Regions from separate parts of the Homo sapiens genome. Here regions 2, 3, 4 and 5 are each linked to region 1. Evidence: promoter capture Hi-C in human tissues and cell types (Jung and others, 2019). All regions are on one chromosome and are shown on one strand. The core of a region is centred on a gene start or on the middle of the fragment in contact, and the rest is flanking DNA. Distances in the headings are between cores, read along the strand shown. Region 1 holds the start of ANKS3 (ankyrin repeat and sterile alpha motif domain containing 3). Region 2 overlaps HMOX2 (heme oxygenase 2). Region 3 overlaps HMOX2 (heme oxygenase 2). Region 4 overlaps CDIP1 (cell death inducing p53 target 1). Region 5 has its middle 7.8 kb from the start of SEC14L5.

The links. The method cuts DNA at HindIII sites, captures the fragments that hold promoters and counts their contacts. A contact is called where the count stands out against the background at its distance.
Region 2: a contact is called between a fragment that was not itself captured here and the fragment with the promoter of ANKS3 in region 1, in 1 of the 25 tissues and cell types used here (aorta).
Region 3: a contact is called between a fragment that was not itself captured here and the fragment with the promoter of ANKS3 in region 1, in 1 of the 25 tissues and cell types used here (dorsolateral prefrontal cortex).
Region 4: a fragment that was not itself captured here is called in contact with the fragment with the promoter of ANKS3 in region 1 in 1 of the 25 tissues and cell types used here (dorsolateral prefrontal cortex).
Region 5: a contact is called between a fragment that was not itself captured here and the fragment with the promoter of ANKS3 in region 1, in 1 of the 25 tissues and cell types used here (dorsolateral prefrontal cortex).

What each region holds. Positions count from the first base shown.
Region 1 is chr16:4,732,030-4,736,131 of GRCh38, reverse strand. It overlaps ANKS3 (ankyrin repeat and sterile alpha motif domain containing 3), which reads left to right and starts at 1,861. Exons shown (of 18, transcript NM_133450.4): 1 at 1,861-2,194. DNAAF8 (dynein axonemal assembly factor 8) reads right to left here and starts at 1,595. Exons shown (of 10, transcript NM_139170.3): 1 at 1,434-1,595. RefSeq lists silencers at 1,736-1,965, 2,016-2,075. The HindIII fragment of the contact is 29,621 bases long and covers 1-4,102 here.
Region 2 is chr16:4,481,581-4,485,682 of GRCh38, reverse strand. The region is part of intron 1 of HMOX2 (heme oxygenase 2); the gene reads right to left. LOC124903636 (a long non-coding RNA gene) reads left to right here. Exons shown (of 3, transcript XR_007064964.1): 2 at 3,804-3,919. Among named protein-coding and RNA genes, the nearest start is that of HMOX2, 7.2 kb to the right of the region's middle. The HindIII fragment of the contact is 6,121 bases long and covers 1-4,102 here.
Region 3 is chr16:4,498,574-4,502,675 of GRCh38, reverse strand. The region is part of intron 1 of HMOX2 (heme oxygenase 2); the gene reads right to left. Among named protein-coding and RNA genes, the nearest start is that of HMOX2, 24 kb to the right of the region's middle. RefSeq lists a silencer at 2,074-2,368. The HindIII fragment of the contact is 3,900 bases long and covers 134-4,033 here.
Region 4 is chr16:4,516,968-4,521,069 of GRCh38, reverse strand. The region is part of intron 1 of CDIP1 (cell death inducing p53 target 1); the gene reads left to right. Among named protein-coding and RNA genes, the nearest start is that of CDIP1, 20 kb to the left of the region's middle. The HindIII fragment of the contact is 6,021 bases long and covers 1-4,102 here.
Region 5 is chr16:4,948,459-4,952,560 of GRCh38, reverse strand. No RefSeq gene overlaps it. Among named protein-coding and RNA genes, the nearest start is that of SEC14L5, 7.8 kb to the left of the region's middle. RefSeq lists an enhancer at 3,992-4,102. The HindIII fragment of the contact is 7,417 bases long and covers 1-4,102 here.

The DNA of each region.
Region 1 (4,102 bases), core at 612-3,111:
GATATATAGGTATATTTTATATATACCCCATATAGCATAACTATTCTCTTCATTTCATAGGCTCAGGGTGTTTAGTAAATAGCAACAGTGGACTCTGAATCAGGGGGAATTTCAAGTCCTACTACCCTTTACTGCCCTTTACCAAGGAACAGAAGACACCTTGCTTTTTTGTTTTGGAGACAGGGTCTGGCTTTGTCGCCCAGGCTAGAGTGCAGTGGTACAATGATAGCTCACTGAAGCCTCGGCCTCCTGAGCTCAAGTGATCCTCCCACCTCAGCCTCCTGAATAACTGGGACTACAGGTGTGTACCACCACATCTGGCTAACATTTTTATTTTTTGTAGAGATGGAGTCTCCCTGTTGCCCAGGCTGGTCTCAAACTCCTGGCCTCAAGTGATCCTCTTGCCTCAGCCTCCCAAAGTGCTGGGATTACAGGCATGTGCCATCGCGCCTGGCTGACAGTTTGGAGTCACTAAGTGATTTTTTTTTTTTTTTGGAGTCACTACTCTGACCAGCCCCTGCATTTATATCTTAGAGTCTTAAAGGAGATGGTCCTGTTATTCAGGGGGCTGGGGAGCTTGAGCTTGAGAGCTGGGGGGTGAGGGTCCTCTAGAGCCAGTGTCAGGAGAACTCTGCAGCTCGAGAGGCCGCTGTGGCTTTGGCCCTGCAGTCAGTGCCCGTTCATCCCCAATCAGGGCAGCGGCAGGAGATGTGAATTGGGGGCTGCTTGCTTCCTCTGTACTTCTGGGAATAGGGCAGGTGCTTGGTGCACTCTGAACTGGGAGCAGCGGGTTGGGGACGCATCTGGTGCACACAGCCAGCGGGTGTTTTTTGTAACTAGAGCTCTGTTCCGCAATTCAGGGCACAGTATTTCTTAGGGCAACAGAATCGTCGGGATGAAGAGGGCCTCCAGAGACTCTGATAAACCCTTCAGGCGGACAAGACAATAGGGGAGGGAACGGCATTACCGGCAGAAGGAAGAGCATGTACAGTAGCTCAAAGGAATGAACCGCCCAACAGGTTTAAGGGAAGAAAGTGTCAGTTGCTGGACTCTCCGGTGAAAACGGACCAGACAATGCAGGGCCCTGAACGCCAAGTTGAGGAGCTCAGAGCATCCAGAAGGCGAAGGGGAGGCTCGGAGCCGCCTCTGAATAACGGCCTTCCGGCTCCGTCTCGGGGTGGGTTTCTCAGCTGCAGCCTGTTAGCCCCGCCACAGCCCCGCCCCGGTTCTCAGAGCCCCGCCCCCAGCCGGCCTGCCACGAGGCTGCCGGTTGTTATGGCAACCAGACGCCAACAGCCTCCCGGGTCGAGCTTTTAAATTTTAAAGCTGTGGAAGTGGAAAGCCCATCGCTCCTCCTCTCACCCACCCCCAGCCCGTATTTCCCCGCGTTTTGTTCAACTCCCTGCAGGCGCAGCAGGCCCGAGGCCCCTCACCTCAGGCCTCTGCCTCCACTCCCCGCGCTGTCCTGACAGCGCTATAAACAGCCTCCAGCGCGTCACTCCGCTCGCGTCCGCCCCTCGGGCCGCGCCGCAGGTACAGAGGCTGTCCCCTTCTTCAGCACTCTCCCTCTCAGCGGAGCTTTACATTACTAGACTGCCTCCGCCTTCCCCCCACCCCGCCCAGCTCCTCTTTCGGGCCTTTGCGCGTCCTGCCTCTCCTGCAATGGGATTGGTTCCCCTGGAGGGCGGGGACGGAGCAGGACAAACACCACTAGCTCATTGGCTACCGCGGGCATCAGACAGCGAGCCGGGAAGCTGACCGGAAGGTCCGGGTGCGGGACGTGTGCATTCCACGGCGCCCGGGAGCTGTCCCGGTGCCGACCCGCGAGCTTCCCGGCGTGCTCCGCGCCCTCCCGCAACTACTTCCGGGGCGGGTGCCGGGGGCGGTGCCCCGGCGAGGGAGCGTGGCGGCGAGCTGTTTGGGGGGGGTTGGCGACGGCAGCCCGAGGGCGGCGCAAGGCCTGAGGCCCAGCACAGGTGGGTTCCGCGGCGGCCCGGCCCCAGCACTTGCCGGCACCTGCAGCCCGCCTAGACCCGGCGCTCGGGCGTCCCGCGCTGCACTTGCTCGCCGCGTGACTGGAGGACCGAGCCCCCACATTTTCTTTATGTGGTTGTGGTGGGGGCACAGTAATGCCCTGTGCGCCGTAGCGTTCCTGTGGGGATGTGGCCGGGGGGCGTCGGGAAGCGTCACTGCTGTGAGTTACGGGTTTGTCGGCCAGGGACCCGCCCCGGGGCCAGTGAGCTACCTTTGCGATGCGGTTCCACGGGGCGAGAGGGGGTGCCTGGGTGCTTTCACAGACCTCCTCTGTGGGCGTGACAGTTACCACCAGCATCACATTTGTTAAGATTTTTAAAAATTTTTTAATTTTTGTGGGTACGTAGTAGGTGTATATATTTATGGCGTATATGAGAGATTTTGATACAGGCATGCAGTTCGTAATAATCACATGTAAAATGGGGGTCTCCATCCCTTCAAGCATTTATCCTTTGTGTTACAAACAATATGATTATACTCTTTGAATTATTTTTAAATGTGCAGCCGGGCGCGGTGGCTCACTCACGCCTGTAATCCTAGCACTTTGGGAGGCAAAGGCGGGCGGATCACCTGAAGTCAAGGATTTGAGACCAGCCTGGCCAACATGGGGACACTTCGTCTCTACTAAACATACGAAAACTAGGCTGGCATGGTGGCTCATACCTGTAATCTCAGCTACTCGGGAAGCTGAGGCAGGAGAATCGCTTGAACCCAGGAGGCGGAGGTTGCATTGAGCCGAGATCACGCCGCTGCACTCTAGCCTGGGTAACAGAGTGAGATTATGTCTCAAAAAAAATAATAATAAATAAATAAAATGTGCAATTAGATTATATTGACTATAGTCACCCTGTTGTGCGGTCAAATACTAGATCTTTTTTTTTTTTTTTTTTTTTTTGAGACGGAGTCTCGCTTTGTCGCCCAGGCTGGAGTGCAGTGGCTTGATCAAATACTAGATCTTATTCATTCTGTTTTTTTTGTATCCATTAAGCATCCCCACCCTCCACTACCCTTCCCAGCCTTGGTTACACTAGAAGTAACCATCCTTCTACTTTCTATGTCCATGAGTTCAGTTGTTTTGATTTTTAGATAACCACAAATAATTGAGAACATGCAATATTTATCTTTCTGTGCCTGGCTTATTTCACTAAACATAACGATCTCCGCTTCCATCCATGTTTTTGCAAATGATAGGATCTCATTCTTTTTTTATGGCTGAATAGTACTCCATTGTGTCTAAGTACCACATTTTCTTTAGGATTCACTGTAAAGGTAACAGATACTTAGCATTTTCAGAATGGACAGAACCAAAAAGTTGAATGAAAACTAAAACGTCTTATCTCTAATGCTACTTTACACCACACCACTCGGGATGGGACATTTTAGTTTTCACTTTAGTGTTTTTTTTTTGTTTTTTTTTTTGAGACAGAATTTCGCTCTGTTGCCCAGGCTGGAGTGCAGTGGCTTGAGCTCGGCTCACTGCAATCGCCTCCCAGGCTCAAGCGATTCTCTTGCCTCAGCCTCCTGAGTACTGAGACTACAGGCGCCCACCACCACACCCAGCTAATTTTTGTAATTTTAGTAAAGATGGGAGTTCACCATTTTGGCCAGGGTGGTCTCGAACTCCTGGCCTCAAGTGGTCCGTCACGCTTGGTCTGGTTCTCATTGTCCTTCAGACCTCTGGGGATGTCAGATATGCAAGTCTCCAGTAAATAGAGAACACGGCCTCACCCTGCAGGAGGCCTTTGGCGTGGAAGAGACATGCCCAGTGAAGGCTTGAGGGAGGTATGGAAGGGACTCTGAACTGACCCTCAGCTCGTTTGGTTTCTTATCCAGGCTTCGTTGGCCAGGGCTGTTAGGGTGGGATTCTCACCTGCAAAGTGAGGGAAGGGCACTGCACGATCTTGGGCTCTGCTAGCTGAAGAGGTGGTGGCTCCAGGAAGGAGGGCTTTGCTTGCCCCACCGCACCTACACACACTCTTCACCAAGGGTCTGTGAAGTGTTCGTCTCCCACATTGGTGGCTTGTTTCTTTAGCCATCTTGGCTGTCACCTGGGGCTTGGAAGCATTCT
Region 2 (4,102 bases), core at 827-3,326, 250 kb after region 1:
AGGAGTCTATCAGTGACATTCTCTTTTTATGGGTAAAGTTTTCAGTAAGACCCTGAGTGCTCTAAGAAGGGTTTCTTCTTTCTTTGGCCTCCTTCCTTCTCTTCCCTTCCTCCTCTGTCCTAATGGGTTCAGTACAAGTTCTCCCATTTTCTCCATTTCTCCACTCTTTAACTTCCCTGGCCTCTCAAAACTCTCATAAACCTTACAAAGTGATTTTACTGTTTTGTGTCTTCCCACAGTTACTACCAGCTCCTAGTAAACAAAGACTATGCTTGGTTTGTTGTTGTATTTGCACATCCCCTCAGTGCCAATACTCTGCATACCTTAGAAGCTCAATACAGTACAGTCAGCCCTCCATATCCATGGGCTCTGCATCAGTGGATTCAACCAACCTCAGATTAAAAATATTCAGAAAAAGGCCTGACATGGTGGCTCACCCCTGTAATCATAGCACTTTGGGACGTGGAGGTGGGTGAATCACTTAAGGTCAGGAGTTCGAGATCAGCCTGGCCAACATGGTGAAACCCGGAATCTGCTAAAAATATAAAAATTAGCCGGGGGTTGTGGCAGGCACCTGTAATCCCAGCTACTCGGGAGGCTAAGGCAAGAGAATCGCTTGAACCCAGGAGGTGGAGGTTGCAGTGAGCCAAGACTGCGCCACTGCACTCCAGCCTCGGTGACAGAGTGAGATGCCGTCTCAATCAACCAATCAATCTTCAGGGAAAAAAAAAACAACAGATGGCTACATATGTACTACACATGTACAGATTTTTTTTCTTGTCATGATTACCTAAACGATACAGTATAACAACTATTTACATAGCACTGTATTGGGTATTATAAATACAGATGATTTAAAGAATACAGAAGATATGCATAGGTTATATGCAAATTCTATACACCATTTTATATAAGAAACTTAAGCTGGGCACAGTGGCTCATGCCTGTAATACCAGCACTTTGGGAGCCCGCGGCAGGCGGCTCACCTGAAGTCAGGAGTTCGAGACCAGCCTGGCCAATATGGTGAAACCTCACCTCTACTAAAAATACAAAAATCAGCCAGGCGTGGTGGTGCACACCTGTAATCCCAGCTACTCGGGAGGCTGAGGCAGGAGAATCATTTGAACCCGGGAGGTGGAGATTGCAGTGAGCCGAAATCGTACCACTGCACTCCAGCCTGGGTGACAGTGCAAGACTCCGTCTCAAAAAAAAAAAAAAAAAAGAAAAGAAAAGAAACTTGAGCATCCTGGATCTTGGTACCCTTGAGGGGTCCTGGAACTAATCTCCACAGATACTGAGGGATAACTATATATACTTCTCAAATGGCCTCATACTACTGTTTCTTGATCCTTCTACCTTTAGGCATTTGGACTTGAATGTGGTGCCTCCTTTAAAATTTGGGCATATGAGGCCGGGTGCAGTGGCTCACGCCTGTAATCCCAGCACTTTGGGAGGCCAAGGTGGGTGGATCATGAGGTCAGGAGATTGAGACCATCTTGGCTAACACGGTGAAACCCCGTCTCTACTAAAAATACAAAAAATTAGCCGGGCATGGTGGCGGGAGCCTGTAGTCCCAGCTACTCGGGAGGCTGAGGCAGGAGAATGGCGTGAACCTGGGAGGCGGAGCCTGCAGTGAGCCGAGATCGCACCACTGCACTCCAGCCTGGGCGACAGAGCAAGACTCCGTCTCAAAAAAAAAAAAAAAAAAATTTTTGGGCATATGCACGGGTGTGATACTGTAATTTAGAAGAAGATACAGAGATAAATTTGAGGCTGGATGCAGCGGCTCATGCCTGTAATCCCAGCACTTCAGGAGGCTGAGGTGGGCAGATCACTTGAGGTCAGGAGTTCAAGACCAGCCTGGTTAATATGGTGAAACCCCGTCTCTACTAAAAATACAAAAATTAACCAGGTATAGTGGCGCACACCTGTAGTCCCACCTACTCGGGAGGCTGAGGCAGGAGAATCGCTTGAATCCGGGAAGCGGAGGTTGCAGTGAGCCGAGATAGCGCCATTGCACTCCAGCCTGGGTGTCGCAGCAAGACTCTGTCTCAAAACACAAACAAACAAAAAGATTTATAGATATATTTGATCTGCACCCTAGGTTCCTGGCACAGAGCTCCTAAAACCTTTGTAGATGGGGGCACTAGGAGAATCCTTCATTCTGATATTGGTCTTTAACCTCAGTTCCTGACACAGAGCTCCTAAAACTTTTGTAATTTCCTAAATCCCTTGGAATTTCCTGGGTAATAGGAGCATCTTTTGTTGTAAGTAAGTAACTCTTGGTGGGCTCCTAGATGGGGGCTGATTGCCTGGGGAACCAACCATGTGATTAGAGGGTGGGAACTTTCAGCCCTACCCCCTTAACCTCAGGGGACGGGAGAAGGTCTAAAGGTTGAGTTGATCACCAGTGGCCAATAACGTATTCAATTATGCCTTTGTAATGAAGCCTCCATAAACACACACACACACACACACACACACACACACACACACACACACACACACACACACACACACACCAGGGTTTGCATTAGCTTCAGGATAGCTGAATACACGAAAGTTCCAGAGAGGGCGTAGAAGCTTCATGCCTCTTCCTACATGCCTCACCCTATACATCTCTTCCATCTGGCTATTCATCTGTATCCTTTTTTTTTCTTCCAGTCTGTCGCCCAGGCTGGATGGAGTGCGGTGGCGTGATCTCATTTCACTGCAACATCTGCCCCCAGGGTCCAAGCGATTTTCCTGCCTCAGCCTCCCTAGTGGCTGGGACTACAGGCATGCACGACCACACCCGGCTAATTTTTTTGTATTTTTACTAGAAATGGGGTTTCACCACATTGGTCAGGCTGGTCTCAAACTCCTGACCTCAGGTGATCTGCCCTCCTTGGCCTCCCAAAGTGCTGGGATTACAGGCATGAACCAGCACGCCCAGCCATCTGTATCCTTCTTAATATCCTTTAGAGTAAATTGGTAAATGTAAGTAAAGTGTTTTCCTGAGTTCTGTGACCCACTCTAGCAGATTAATCAAACTCGAGGAGGGATTGTCAGAACTTTCGATTTATAGCTAGTAGGTCAGAAGTATAGGTGACAATTTACTACTTGTGACTAGTGCCTCAAGTTGGGACAGTTTTGTGGGACTGAGCCCTCAATTGGTGGGATCTGACGCTATCTCCAGATAGAGTATCAGAATTTAACTGACTTAGAGGACACCGCACCGGTGTGTCTACTAGAGAATTGCTTGGTGTATGGGGAAACAACTCCCATATATCTGGTATCAGAAGTGTTGTGTTGAGTGACTGTGGGAACAGAGTAGAAAAAAGACTTTGGGTTTTTTTGCCTTTCTCAAATAACCAGAAGAGCCACAAGCAAAGACAGAAAAGCATAACCTACAGCAGCTAGTTTCTCAGAACAGCATATTTTTCCCCTTCTGGGTCCACTTGCCTTTTTATAAACACAAAAAGTCTTACAGAGCAGGACAAATATGACACTGAACACAGACATTTGAAAATTTTGCTGAGATTGACAAATTCTCAAGTATATGGTAGAGGAATGGAGTTTTTTAAGTTATTTTCTAATTACTGGGATACCTGCTATTACCAAGCCAACCGAAGGCCTGACTTTCCCTCTGCCTTCCTACATAAAAAGAAGAGAGTAAAGGTTTAATGTCTTCTAGGTAGAAGTTAGATGACCACCCAGGCCACACTTCACCAAGTTTGCTTTTTCATCTGCCGTCAAACACTACTATCCACACTCAGCTTTGCTCATTTATTCCTTCCCTTCTCCCTCCTGCCCTCCTCCAGACTGCCACAGAGATAGTTCAAGGTGACAATGGCTCCTCTGCAGCAGCACATAGCAGTCTTGCCAGACACAACAGCAGATCAAGTAACTACTGAAGATGATGGCTACACTTGGACAGGTGACATTACATTATCATCAACAAACATTTATCACCCTCTTGAGTACTGTGACTACAAAGAAAGATAAGATCTTGCTCTGCACGTCAAGTACCTTTCAATCTAGAGAGAGAGTTAGGTGGAAAAATAAAAAGATAACATAAGGTGTACCATTCTATAAATATTAATTGTGCAATACAGACAAC
Region 3 (4,102 bases), core at 834-3,333, 230 kb after region 1:
CCCTGAGAGCCAAAATTTGTCTCTGGCTGCTCAGTTCTCAGGCAGCAGAGAAAAAGGTGCTGGGATGAAAACACTGAGCTATCTAGAGGAGGGAGGGGTGCAGTAAAGGGTCCTGGAGCCTCTAGATGGGTGATGGAAGTAAAGGACCAGGCTGAGGGCACACACACACCAGGCTGAGGGTCCAGGTACCCCAGGACCACAGGCCCCATGCTTCTTACAGGCAAAATGAGGCAAAGACAAGTGCCATCCATGGCCCAGGTTACCAACTGCAGTAACTTCAGCGTGCTTCTTGCCATTTGCACCTACTTATCATGCTGCACAACAGTGATAGGGAACGTGATTAAATCTCATTAACTGTGTTTTACTCAATAATAACTGCATGCTCTGGGAGAGTATAGTCTTGCTTAATTAAACAACAAGTCCTTGTGCTTCTCCGAAAAATACAAAAAGGAGCCAGGCACAGTGGTTCGCACCTATAATCCCAGCATTTAGGGAGGCCGAGGTGGGCAGATCACCTGAGGTCAGCAGTTCGAGACCAGCCTGGCCAACATGGTGAAAGCCCATCTCTACTAGAAATACAAAAATGAGCCAGGCATGGTGGTGGGCAATTTTTTGTAATCTGCTGTCCACGACTTCAAATTTTCTACACTCAAAATAGGTTCTACCGATTTTACTTTGAAGGAAAGCTAACAGGAAGAATACTGAGTTCTCAAGGCGGGCTGAAAGTACCAACTACCATCTGTACAGACCTGGGGGCTGGGGGCAGAGGAGGCTCCTGGGAAGGCTCGGTTAGCATATTCAACCCACAGACTGGGGCCAGGGGAGGCGACCCTGTGGCCTAGCCACTGTCCAAGGGAGTGGCCACACAGTGTGGCATTCAGAGGCCACCTTGCAACTGCAGAAACATAATTTTTTTTCACTTTCTGAAAAGCTACATGTCCAGACTTAGTCTGGCTGGTTTCTATACTTGAATGCTCTTTTCTTTGCAGGAACCATTGGAATCTCTAGAAAATTGAGGGCCAAATCATAAATATAGAACCTTTTTAGACTTCAATGTCTAATATCCACAAGAAGCTACATGTTCCCCACCCCCACAAAAGAGAAAAAAAGATCCTAAAATATTCCACTCTGGGAAATACACTTCAAGAAATAGTAATAGTAATTGTAATCTGTATCAAAATAATACCCAGCCATACTATGATGTTAGGAAAAAAACAACACACAGCCTAAGAACAAAGGGCATGACTGCTCAAACAACAGTCAACAATGGAATCCTGGCACAGCCGGGGCAAGTTGATAAGCTGTGTTCATGCATGGAAAAGCCTACAGAAACTTTTTATTTTTTTAAAAAGGATCCCAAACACCGACTATAACTGTGTGCAAAAGTATACTGATAATGACAAGTGGGAAATTTGGAGAGCTATAAATACTTGTTTTTTGTTGGACTTTTTAGCCAACTGGCTGCTTCTTTTATATGGAGTGACTCAATTCTCTTGGAAAGAAAAAGGGAAGAGGGAGGGGAAGGCAGCGAAGGGAAGGGAAAAAAGAAACCGAGAGACAGGAATTGGACCAAGCAAACCAGCTAAGATCCCGCACTGCATTAACTAACTAGTCAATGGAAGCTCCTGGGTCCTCTTTTCTGTTACAAATTCTAGAAAGGCCAGTCTACCCTCTCTCTTTCCCATTTCCAAAAAACTGGGACCCTCTGTTTATAAAATCTACCTCCACTACTCCATAATTCCAGTACTCCTAGCTGTTCACCTCATCAGCTGCTGATTCTCATTCCAACACCTGAGCTAACAGAAGCAGTAACAAAGTTCCTATCACAGTTACTTCAAGCAAAAGAGGTTCCTTTAGACCAGCTCAGCAGATCCAGAACACTGTCTCAAAGCTTTTGCTCCTGCTAAATTGCTGGCATGAGGCACTACCAGGACTTCTGAGACAACGAAGATGGTAAATCCTCCTCCATGGAGACTAAGTCCAACAAATTTCAGGTCAGGTAACTCAGTGCATTGCTACCAGGTGGGAATATAATCTAAGGACTATATTATAATTCATTTCCCATCTGGTCATACAGAAAGGAACAATAAAGACTTCTTTGCCCTGGAGAAACCTGAACTGAAGGAAGAGAGCAGGTTGCTGAGCTCAGCCAGCACCGAGAGTAAGCAACAGCAGACTGACTCACTCCCTGGAATGAGAACAATTCTGCAGGCTTCTGACTCAATGAAATAGTGACACTTGACAGTGACCAGCTACTACACTGCATGAGATGCCCACAACATGAACTCGGGTTGTTACCCCACAAACACAGGGAGGCTAAGTGGCTGCTCAGAGACTTCTGCACTGGGACTCCACGAGTGCTCCCTCCCTGCTGAACACCTTGCAGTTGGGCATCAGGATTCTTACCATCACCCTGGATGGGGGTCCCCTGCCTGCTTCCTAGAAGGCTGTTTGCAGCTCAGAGCTCACTCCGATATAAAATTGCCACCATATTAATATGAGGTGATTACGCTTCAGCTTCCACAACTGACTGTCATCCTGTCTTCCCAGTTAAACCAAAAGCTTCCTACAAGAGAGATCCAGATTCCCTCAGATTCAGATCAGGGTCCAATATGACTTATAGGCCAGCACCCTGGGGAGCATCCAACCTGAGTTACAGCTGTTGCAAATACACAGATGGAGTTCCTACTGAGAAAGCCAGTTAAATAGAGGATTTGTGTGCCTGTGCCTGTGTGTGTAACAAGAAAATAACAGCTAAATTCTAAAATACCAAGTAAAGTAATACAAATTTTTAATTGGGTCCCATGTCTCTAAATTAACTGTATGAAATCTGTTTTGACTTCTCTTCAGATCTGACTTGACTCCTAAGTTTTTAACTGACAATTATATTTATGGGGTACAGTGTGATGTTTGGACACATGTATACATTGGGGAATAATTAAATCAGGGTTATTAACATATCCATCAGCTCACATGCTTATCATTTCTTTGTGGTGACAACTTTTAAAATCCACTCTTTTACCAATTTTGAAGTATACAATACTATTATAATATTAACCATATTAACTATAGTCACCATGCTGTAAGGCAGATCATCAGACCTTATTTCTCCTAACTGAAATTTTGTACCCTTTGATCAACATCTCCCCTTTCCACACCCACCCTTCCCTTCCCCCAGCCGCTGGTAACCAACATGTTACACTCTCCTTCTATAACTGACTTTTTCAGATTTCACATATAAGTGATATCATGCACCATTTGTCTTTCTTTCTTTGGCTTACTTCACTTAGCATAATGTCCTCTAGATGCATCCATGTAGTCACAAATGACAGAATTTCCTTCTTGTTTATGGTTGAGTAGTATTCCATCGTGCATAAATACCAGCTTTTAAAAATCCATTAATCCACTGTGTGCTGCGAAGACTAAGTGGGCTAACACGCATGAATGTTTGACAAAATGCAGCACCACCTCAAATATTGAGCTCTTACTGAGGAAGTCGCTGGTGAGAATGAGCAATTGGGTGATTGTTAAACACTGAGGAAGAACAAGAAATCCAGCAATTTCAGATAGTTCTGGGCAGGTCACACCTGAGGACTTCTGACTCAGACCTCATTCTCCAGCAGCGTCAGGAAATAGGAATATCTGCCCTTTCTAAGGTGAGCCACGTGAGCACTGGAGGCTAGAATACCCACATTGCAGATGCCACTGGAGATTGGCTGAGCCACATGTTTGGGGCAGCAGACAGAGCTCAATCAGTTCTAATCCAACAAGGCACGAGATAACAGAGACTTCTCAACACCCTGAAGAAGCCACATCATCTAGAACTACAGCTTCTGAGTTTATAGAATAAATGGCCTGAGGTCTCCTCTGAACTCTGGTACTACCATTCCTCAGGAAATGTTATACATAAGCCCTTTCATTTCAATCGCTGGGGGAATTCAATCCCACGGTTCACTGAACGGAAGAATAAATATTAACCTCTTGATAAAAGAGCAAATCCAGGCTGGGTGCAGTGGCTCACACCTATAATCCTGACACTTTGGGAGGCCAAGGTGGGAGGATCACCTAAGCCTAGGAGCTCAAGACTAGCCTGGGCAACACA
Region 4 (4,102 bases), core at 702-3,201, 220 kb after region 1:
AGCAGTAAAAATCAACTTTATTAAGTCCTGACCCATGAGTCCACAGCTTTTTAAGATCCTTTGTGACGAAATGAGGCACACATGAAGTATGTCAAATGGAGTTTGATGCTGTCGTGAGGAAAAGCACACGTGCATTCATTTGAAGTGTGGGCCGAACTAGCTGCCTTTTTCATGGACTCCATCTTCACTTAAAGAACAACTGGCACACACCGTGGTTATTCAGATTTGGATATTTAGCATACACTTTCTTGAAAATGAGCAAAGTGAACTTGCTACTTCAAGGGAAACAACTGACCTTTTATTTTTGTATATGTTGCTGTTTCTATATTTGTTAGTGCTTTGTTGCCAGTGATGAAATTCAAGCTTTCAAATGATGATTAGCGTTAACAATATTTAGTGACTTTAATGACATTGGTAGTGATACCAGCAATGTGATTTAAAAAAATATATATTGTTCAATGAGATGTGTCAACATTGGTAGATCTGCATTACAGGAACCCGTATTTTCAGGTGACCCACACATGATGTTAAGAAATCATGTCTATGTAAAAGACCCATTCCAAATGCAAGGTACACCAATGACTTCTAATGTAACACATTAGAAAAAAACCATTGTTAAGGCTTCCAATTCCTGTGGCAACTAACCCTTAAGAAACTACCACTTGTCGGTCAAGTGCGGTGGCTCACACCTGTAATCCCAGCACTTTGGGAGGCCGAGGCGGGCAGATGACGAGGTCAAGAGATTGAGACCATCCTGGTCAACATGGTGAAACCCCATCTCTACTAAAAATACAAAAATTAGATGGGTGGCATGCCTGTAGTCCCAGCTCCTCAGGAGGCTGAGGCAGGAGAATCGCTTGAACCCGGGAGGCGGAGGCTGCAGTGAGCCAAGATTGCGCCACTGCACTCCAGCCTGGTGATAGAGCGAGACTCTGTCTAAAAAAAAAAAAAACCTACCACTTGTCAAGTCTTGATGTAGTATTAGTCCATTGTGCTTCTCTAACAGAATACCTGAGACTGGGTCATTCATAAAGAAGAGGAATTTATCTCCTTACAGTTCTGGAGGCTGGTGTCTTAGTCTATTTGTGTTGCTATAAATTACCTGAGGCTGAGTAATTTATAAAGAAAAGAGAGTATTTGGTTCCTGGTTCTGCAGGCTTTATAGGATGGCACGGTGCCAACATCTGCTTCTGTTGAGGGCCTCAGGCTGCTTCCATTCATGGTGGAAGGCACGGGGGGTCTCTGTGCAGAGATCACATGGCGAGAGAGGGGGTGAGAAGGGGAGGGGAAGCGCTGGGCTCTTTCTGACAACCAGCAAGGATGCGGGGACTAACAGAGTGAGAAGTCACTCGCTTCTCCTCCACCCCAGGGAGGGCATTTATCTATTCATGAGGAATCCACCTCCCATGTCCCAAACAACTCCCATTAAGCCTCACCATCAGTCATCAAAACTGTGGTGCTTGGGAAGTCCAGGATCAAGGCACTGCCAGCATCTGGCAAGGGCCTTCTTGCTGTGTCATCCCATGGTGGAAGGGCCGCGGGGAGAGGCACCCACAAAAGACTAGCTAATCCTCTTACAAGGAATCCGCTCCCAAGATAGTGATTTGTAGCCAGTCTGTCAGAAGCGCAGGTCGCAAGCTAGGAATTGCGATGATCAGAAGTGGGGGGCAGTCATGGAACTGAGCCCTCAACCTGTGGGATCTGACACGGTAGCATCAGACTTGAATGCCACTAGAAGACGTCCACCTGGTGTCCGCTGCAGAACTGACTGCTTGCTTGTTATTGGGGAGAAACCCCCACATGTTTTGCCACAGAAGTCTTTTCTGTTGATTGTTATGGTGTGAAAGCAGAGGAGAAACAGGTTTTTTCTCCACACCTTCACATGCCACAGAACCCAGAGGGTGTGGAGGGGTAGACTTTGCAGAGGCCTCTGGTCTTCCATAGGAGTGACTTACTATTAAGTTTGTGATTGACTTGTAAAGATTTTCAAACAGGCACCTATTTTGTTTGCAATTAATAAATCCAAGATTTAAAGCAAGAAGGCCAAGAAGCCTCTCTTGGATTTGTCAGGGCTGCAAGTTGACTTCAGTGGGCTCCCCAGACCCCGCAAGTCTCCCCTTCCTCCTCTGTTGGGAACTGGGCAGATCCCCAGGTCTCCTAGCCCCCTCCCTCACCAGCACCTTCCCACAGCAGAGGTGCTGGGGCTGCATTTTCAGATCAGACATTTTCCATTTTGTAGCTTAATTTGAACAGTACTCGTTTTATTGGAAAACTATTTTGCTTCTGATCGTGTGATTGAAAGATTATTCTTGTAGTTTTTATTACACCCTACACAACATGGTTTTGTGGGAATGCATGTTTGATTTTGTATTGGAAGGCACTGGGAGAATGGGTGTTTGAATTCGGGAAATCTTCATGAGCTGTTTTCCAGATCCTCTCCTTGGTAGAGAAGGACCTGCCCTGCAGTCTCTGCTGGGGTTCAGGAAGGCAGCAGGAGGACGCATGTGGATATGGAGGGGTGAGGGGGAGCAGTGAGTAGCAGGCATGGCCCTAGGTGGGGAAGACACGGAGGAGCAACAGGGCCCTGCGGCCCCCGGTGAGGGGCAAAGAGAAGGTGGGCTCTGGTGTGGCCATCGAGCTGGAGGGGAAGCCAGCCCTGTGCAGGTCCAGACCCTTCCCTGTGGCCTGCATTTTCTGTACCCAGGTTGGGTGAACACCAAAGGAGGGCTATGCCCTGTGGGCTTACACCCTATCATCATGGGCAAGGCTGTATGTGGAATTCCAGAAATAGAATTTTTGAGCTCTAGGAGATCATAGGATTATATCTGTTGACTTTGATGAAAAGATGGGCCAGAGAAAGGCAACACCTGCATTCTCAGAGATGGGGTGTGTGTGCACACGTGTGTGTGTGTGTGCTCCCTGCAAGGGACCCAGGCTGGGATCTGCAGGTGCTTCAGTGACTCACCAAGCACAGTGCAGCTTATTTTCCTGGTCTGCTCAGAGCATCCCAGGGCCTGGACCATTCCCCGATGAGCAAGACCACTGCAGACCACAGTGTTGGGCCACTTGGTGGACGGTGGTGCCACCCAGAGGCGCCAGAGAGCATTTTCTGGGAGTCTGGGAGTTTGTAGCAGGGGCTGGCACTTATTCCAACTCAACGTATTGGAGCAGTTTTCCAGACGCAGGTAAAGCCCCATGAAAGGCTGCCCTCTTCTCCCCTGCAGGAGGGCACCTGGCAGGCTAGGAGCAGCCTGGGCAAGGGACCCCAGGACCAGCCCCAAGAGGCACTGCTGCTACTCCCTGTTCTGTTTTTTTTTTTTTTGTTTTTTGAGACAGGGTCTCGCACTGTTGCCCAGGCTAGAGTGCAGTGGCCTGATCATGGCTCACTGTATCCTCTGAGTCTTGGGCTCAGGTGATCCTCCTGCCTCAGCCTCCCCAGTAGCTGGGACTACAGGCATACATTATCATGCCTAATTTAAAAATTTTTCTTTTGTAGAGACAAGAGTCTTGCCATGTTGACCATGCTGGTTTCGAACCCCTGGCCTCAGTTCATCTGCCAGCTTCAGTCTCCCAAAGTGCTGAGATTAGATTACAGGAATAAGTCCCTGCACCTGGCCACTGCTCCCTTTTCTTAACCCTGTGCCATTGGAATTCACTGTGCAGGCAGGAGGGTGGGAGAGTCATGCTGGGGTCCTAGACTTATGCCCCGCCCCATCCTTTTCTAGGCCTCCATGTCTTCTGTGGATAATAAGGCAACTCAGAAGAGGTGTAATTTCTGAACACTTGGAAAGATGTTCTGTCTCCTGATTGCCAAAGAAATGCATATAAAAATAAGTGACATTTTAATATGAAAATTAATAACTGGCACTATAAATTGGCATCCTTTCAAAAAGGCATAAAATGCTCATGTCCTTTGACCTAGTCATCTCACTCTGACAAGCTTAGCCTGAGGAGATAATCTAACAAAAGGGAAAGAGCGGTGGACAGAGGTGTTCTCTTGTATTTCATGAAAGCAGCAAGTAGGGCCTTGCCTAAATGTCTTAATAGGGTTTGGTCAAGTATGCCCATTTTGTGGAATATTAATATCAACGGTCACGGAGTC
Region 5 (4,102 bases), core at 679-3,178, 220 kb before region 1:
TGAAAAATTATTCAGCATTAGAGAGGAATAAAGCACCCACACGCACTACGACTTGGATGAACCTGGAGGACATTATGCTGAACGGGCAAGAACTGAGTGATTCCACATCTGAGTCACCTAGAGGAGCCCAATCCACAGGGACAGAAAGAAGAACGGTGGCGGGGCTAGGGGCTGGGGGGAGGGGCATGGGGAGTTAATTAATGGACACAGAGTTTGGGTTTTAGAAGATGAAAAGAGTTCTGGGCCGGGCACAGTGGCTCGCGCCTGTAATCCCAGCACTTTGGGAGCCCGAGGCGGGCGGATCACGAGGTCAGGAGTTTGAGACCAGGCTGGCCAACATAGTGAAACCCCATTTCTACTAAAAATACAAAAATTAGCCGGCCATGGTGGCACGCACCTGTAATCCCAGATACTCGGGAGGCTGAGGCAGGAGAATCGCTTGAACCCAGGAGGCGGAGGTTATGGTGAGCCAAGATTGCACCACTGCACTCCAGCCTGGGCAACAGAGCGAGACTCTCAAAAAAAAAAAAAAAAAAAAAGGAGTTTTGGAGATGGATGGTGTGATGGTTACACAATAATGTGAATGCCACTGAACTGCACACTGAAAAATGATTAATTAAGATGGGCAATGTTTTATATATATCTTACTGCAATAAAAAAAATAACAGGAGCTGGTCTGAGTGCAGTGGTGTTTACAACTAATTGTCTCAACCCGTTGCAGATGTGTTTGTTTTGTTTTGTTTTGTTTTGTTTTCTCCACTCCCACTGCTTCACCTGATTAGCCTTGTTTTAAAAAATCACATTGAGGCCAGGCACAGTGGCTCACTCCTATAATCTCAGCACTTTGGTAGGCCAAGGTGGGCAGATCATCTGAGGTCAGGAGTTCGAGACCAGCCTGGACAACATGGTGAGACCCTGTCTCTACAAAAAAATACAAAAATTAACCAGGCGTGGTGGCAGGCCCCTATAATCCCAGCTACTCGGATGGCTGAGGTATGAGAATCGCTTGAACCTGGAGGCAGAGGTCGCAATGAGCCGAGATTGTGCCACTGCACTTCAGCTTGGGTGACAGAGTGAAACCCCGTCTCAAAAAAAAAAAAAAATCACATTGGAAACTTTTTTTTTAATGGGGTTAACCATAGTGTTATCCTGAAGGTTGGTGGAAATTGCGTGAGGAAAAGTAATTGCACAGGGACCACCAGAGGACCCGGGTACATGTTTGTAACTGTGCGGGCTTAGAAGGAGGGGCATTTCCCACGGGAATTTAGGGTGAAGGGGAGTGAGGACTTGACGTTGGACATTTGAGGGGGTGGCCAACACAGTATAGGAAGGTGATAACTCTGCCTTTTGGAGATACAGAATTCATTTATTTAAAGTATGCAATTCAGCTGGGTCTGATGGCTCACCTCTATCATCCCCGAACTTTGGGAGGCCGAGCCAGGAGGATTGCTTGAGGCCAGAAGTTCCAGGCTGCAGTGAGCAATGATCACACCACTGCACTCCAGCCTCAGCAGTACAGCAATACCCTTGGCTGGGCACAGGGGATCACACCTGTAATCTCAGCCCTTTGAGAGGCCAAGGAGAGAGGACCAGTTTAGCCCAGGAGTTCAAAACCAGCATGGGCAAAATAGTAAGGCTCCAGTCTCTACAAAAAATTTTAAGGCCGGGTGAGGTGGTTCACGCCTATAATCCCAGCACTTTGGAAGGCCGAGGCAGGCAGATCACAAGGTCAGGAGTTCAAGACCAGCCTGACCAACATAGTGAAACCCCATCTGTACTAAAAATACAAAAAAAATTAGCCGGGCATGGTGGCAGGCACCTGTACTCCCAGCTACTTGGGAGGCTAAGGCAGGAAAATTGCTTGAACCCGGGAGGCAGAGGTTGCAGTGAGCCGAGATCGTGCCACTGCACTCCAGCCTAGGCAACACAGCAAGACTCTGTCTCAAAAAAAAAAAAGTAAAAATAAAAAACAGGGGCCGGGCGTGGTGGCTCATGCCTGTAATCCCAACAGTTTGGGAGGCCGAAGTGGGCAGATCACCTGAGGTCGGGAGTTCAAGACCAGCCTGACCAACATGGAGAAACCCTGTCTCTACTAAAAATACAAAATTAGCCGGGCGTGGTGATGCATGCCTGTAATCCCAGCTACTCAGGAAGGCTGAGGCAGGAGAATCACTTGAACCTGGGAGGCGGAGGTTGCGGTAAGCTGAGATCGCGCCACTGCACTCCAACCTGGGCAACAAGAGCAAAGCTCCATCTCAAAAAAAAAAAAAAAAAAAAAAAAAAAAGGAGAGAGAGAGAGAAAGACCCTGTCAAAAAAAAAAATAAAAAAAAAAAGAGTGCCATCCAGCCGGTTTTGGTAGTTTCAGAGTTGCACAACCATCAGCATGGTCAATTTGAGAGCACTATCATCACCTGTGCCCCTTAGCAGTCACTCGCCACTCCCCTCTCCCCAGCAGCCACAGTCTCCTTTCCATCTCTACGAATTCACCTCTGAACATTTCACAGGCAGGATCGTATAATATGTGCCGTTGTGTATCTGGCTTTTCTTACTGAGCCTAATGTGCTCACGGTCAACCATGCTGAAGCGCATGTCAGGCCTTCACTCCCCTTTTTTTTTTTTTTTTTTTTTTGAGACACAGTCCCACTCTGTCACCCAGGCTGGAGTGCAGAATCGCGATCTCAGCTCACTGCAACCTCCGCCTCCCGGGTTCAAGCGATTCTCCTGCCTCAGCCTCCTGAGTAGCTGGGATTACAGGCGCCCACCACCACACCTGGCTTATTTTTTTGTATCCGTGAGTGGCTTCTGTTGTGGGTTAGATTGCACTGAGTGCCATGATTGGTGAGCAGGGAAAGAGGGTGGGAAGTGCAGGGCAGATTACAATGTAGGGACCAGGTGGGCTGCGCTGAGAAGGTGACTTGGCACAAAGGCTTGGAAGAAGAGCAGGGGGTCCACGTAGAGAGTGGGGCCAAGGGGGCAGCCGATGCAAAGGCCCTGAGGCAGGAGCATACTTGGCGTGTTTGAGTATTGGGGAGGCGGTCAGTGTATCGGGGGTAGAGTTAGTGGGAGGGAAGTGGCGGGGAAGAGAGCAGACTCTGAGGGGAGCCTGAGGGAGGGGGTCTCATGGGTTATCTGGCTCTGATGCTGAGGTACTCAGAGTGTCTGGGAGGTATGGGACAGGGGAGTCTGCTGACTTCACTTTAGCCCTCTGGTTGCTGTGTTGGGAATAGATTGTAGTTGACCACGGTGGAGGAGGGGGAAGGGTGCAGAGAGCACGGAGGAGGAGCCAGGAGGAGGGAGGCCACCAAAGTGACCTCAGGAATCTGGAGGTGAGGGGGTGAGACCCTAGATCTCTTGCCCAGGTAGATGCTGTAGGAATGGAAAGGGAGACCCAGGAGAACCAGGAAGGGGAAGCTGTTCCTAGAGAGCGCATCCGTGGAGCGGATGCAGACAGAGGAACCTGGGGAAAACGACCTCTTGTCATTGGAGCCGGACAGTCCCACCTGAAGGTCAGCTCAGGTCTTCAGGAGCTCTCAGTGTGTGATTCTGACCACCAAGCAGGGGTCAGAACAAGGGACTGGCCGCTGGGGAGGGGCCACAGGCACCAACACCCAAAGCTCAGCCCCATCAACACAGCGACTCCAGGGACCCCCCAGCTCAGTGCCTGAGGCCTCAGCTGCCACCCAGCCCCTCTAGGCTGCCCCTGCCAAGAAGAGGACCAGGGACCCGAGCTGTCCTCTTCTCCATGCCTGGGCCCAGGTGGACCCTGCGACAGCCACCAGATGCACGCTGCTACTTACGTTTGCATTAATTAAATTCTGTAAATATGAATATGCTCTATATTTACATAAATAACAATACACATAAACAATAAAATTAACAATTCAGGCTGGGCGTGGCGGCAGGCGACTGTCATCCCAGCACTGTGGGAGGCTTAGTCCGGAGGATGGCTTGAGCTCGGGAGTTCAAGGCACCCTGGGCAACACAGTGAGAATCTCCCATCTCTACAAAAAATAAATTAATGGATTAAAATGAATTTTTAAAAATTAACAATTCAATTCCTCAGTTGCACTAGTCACATTTCACGTGCTCAGTAGCCACATG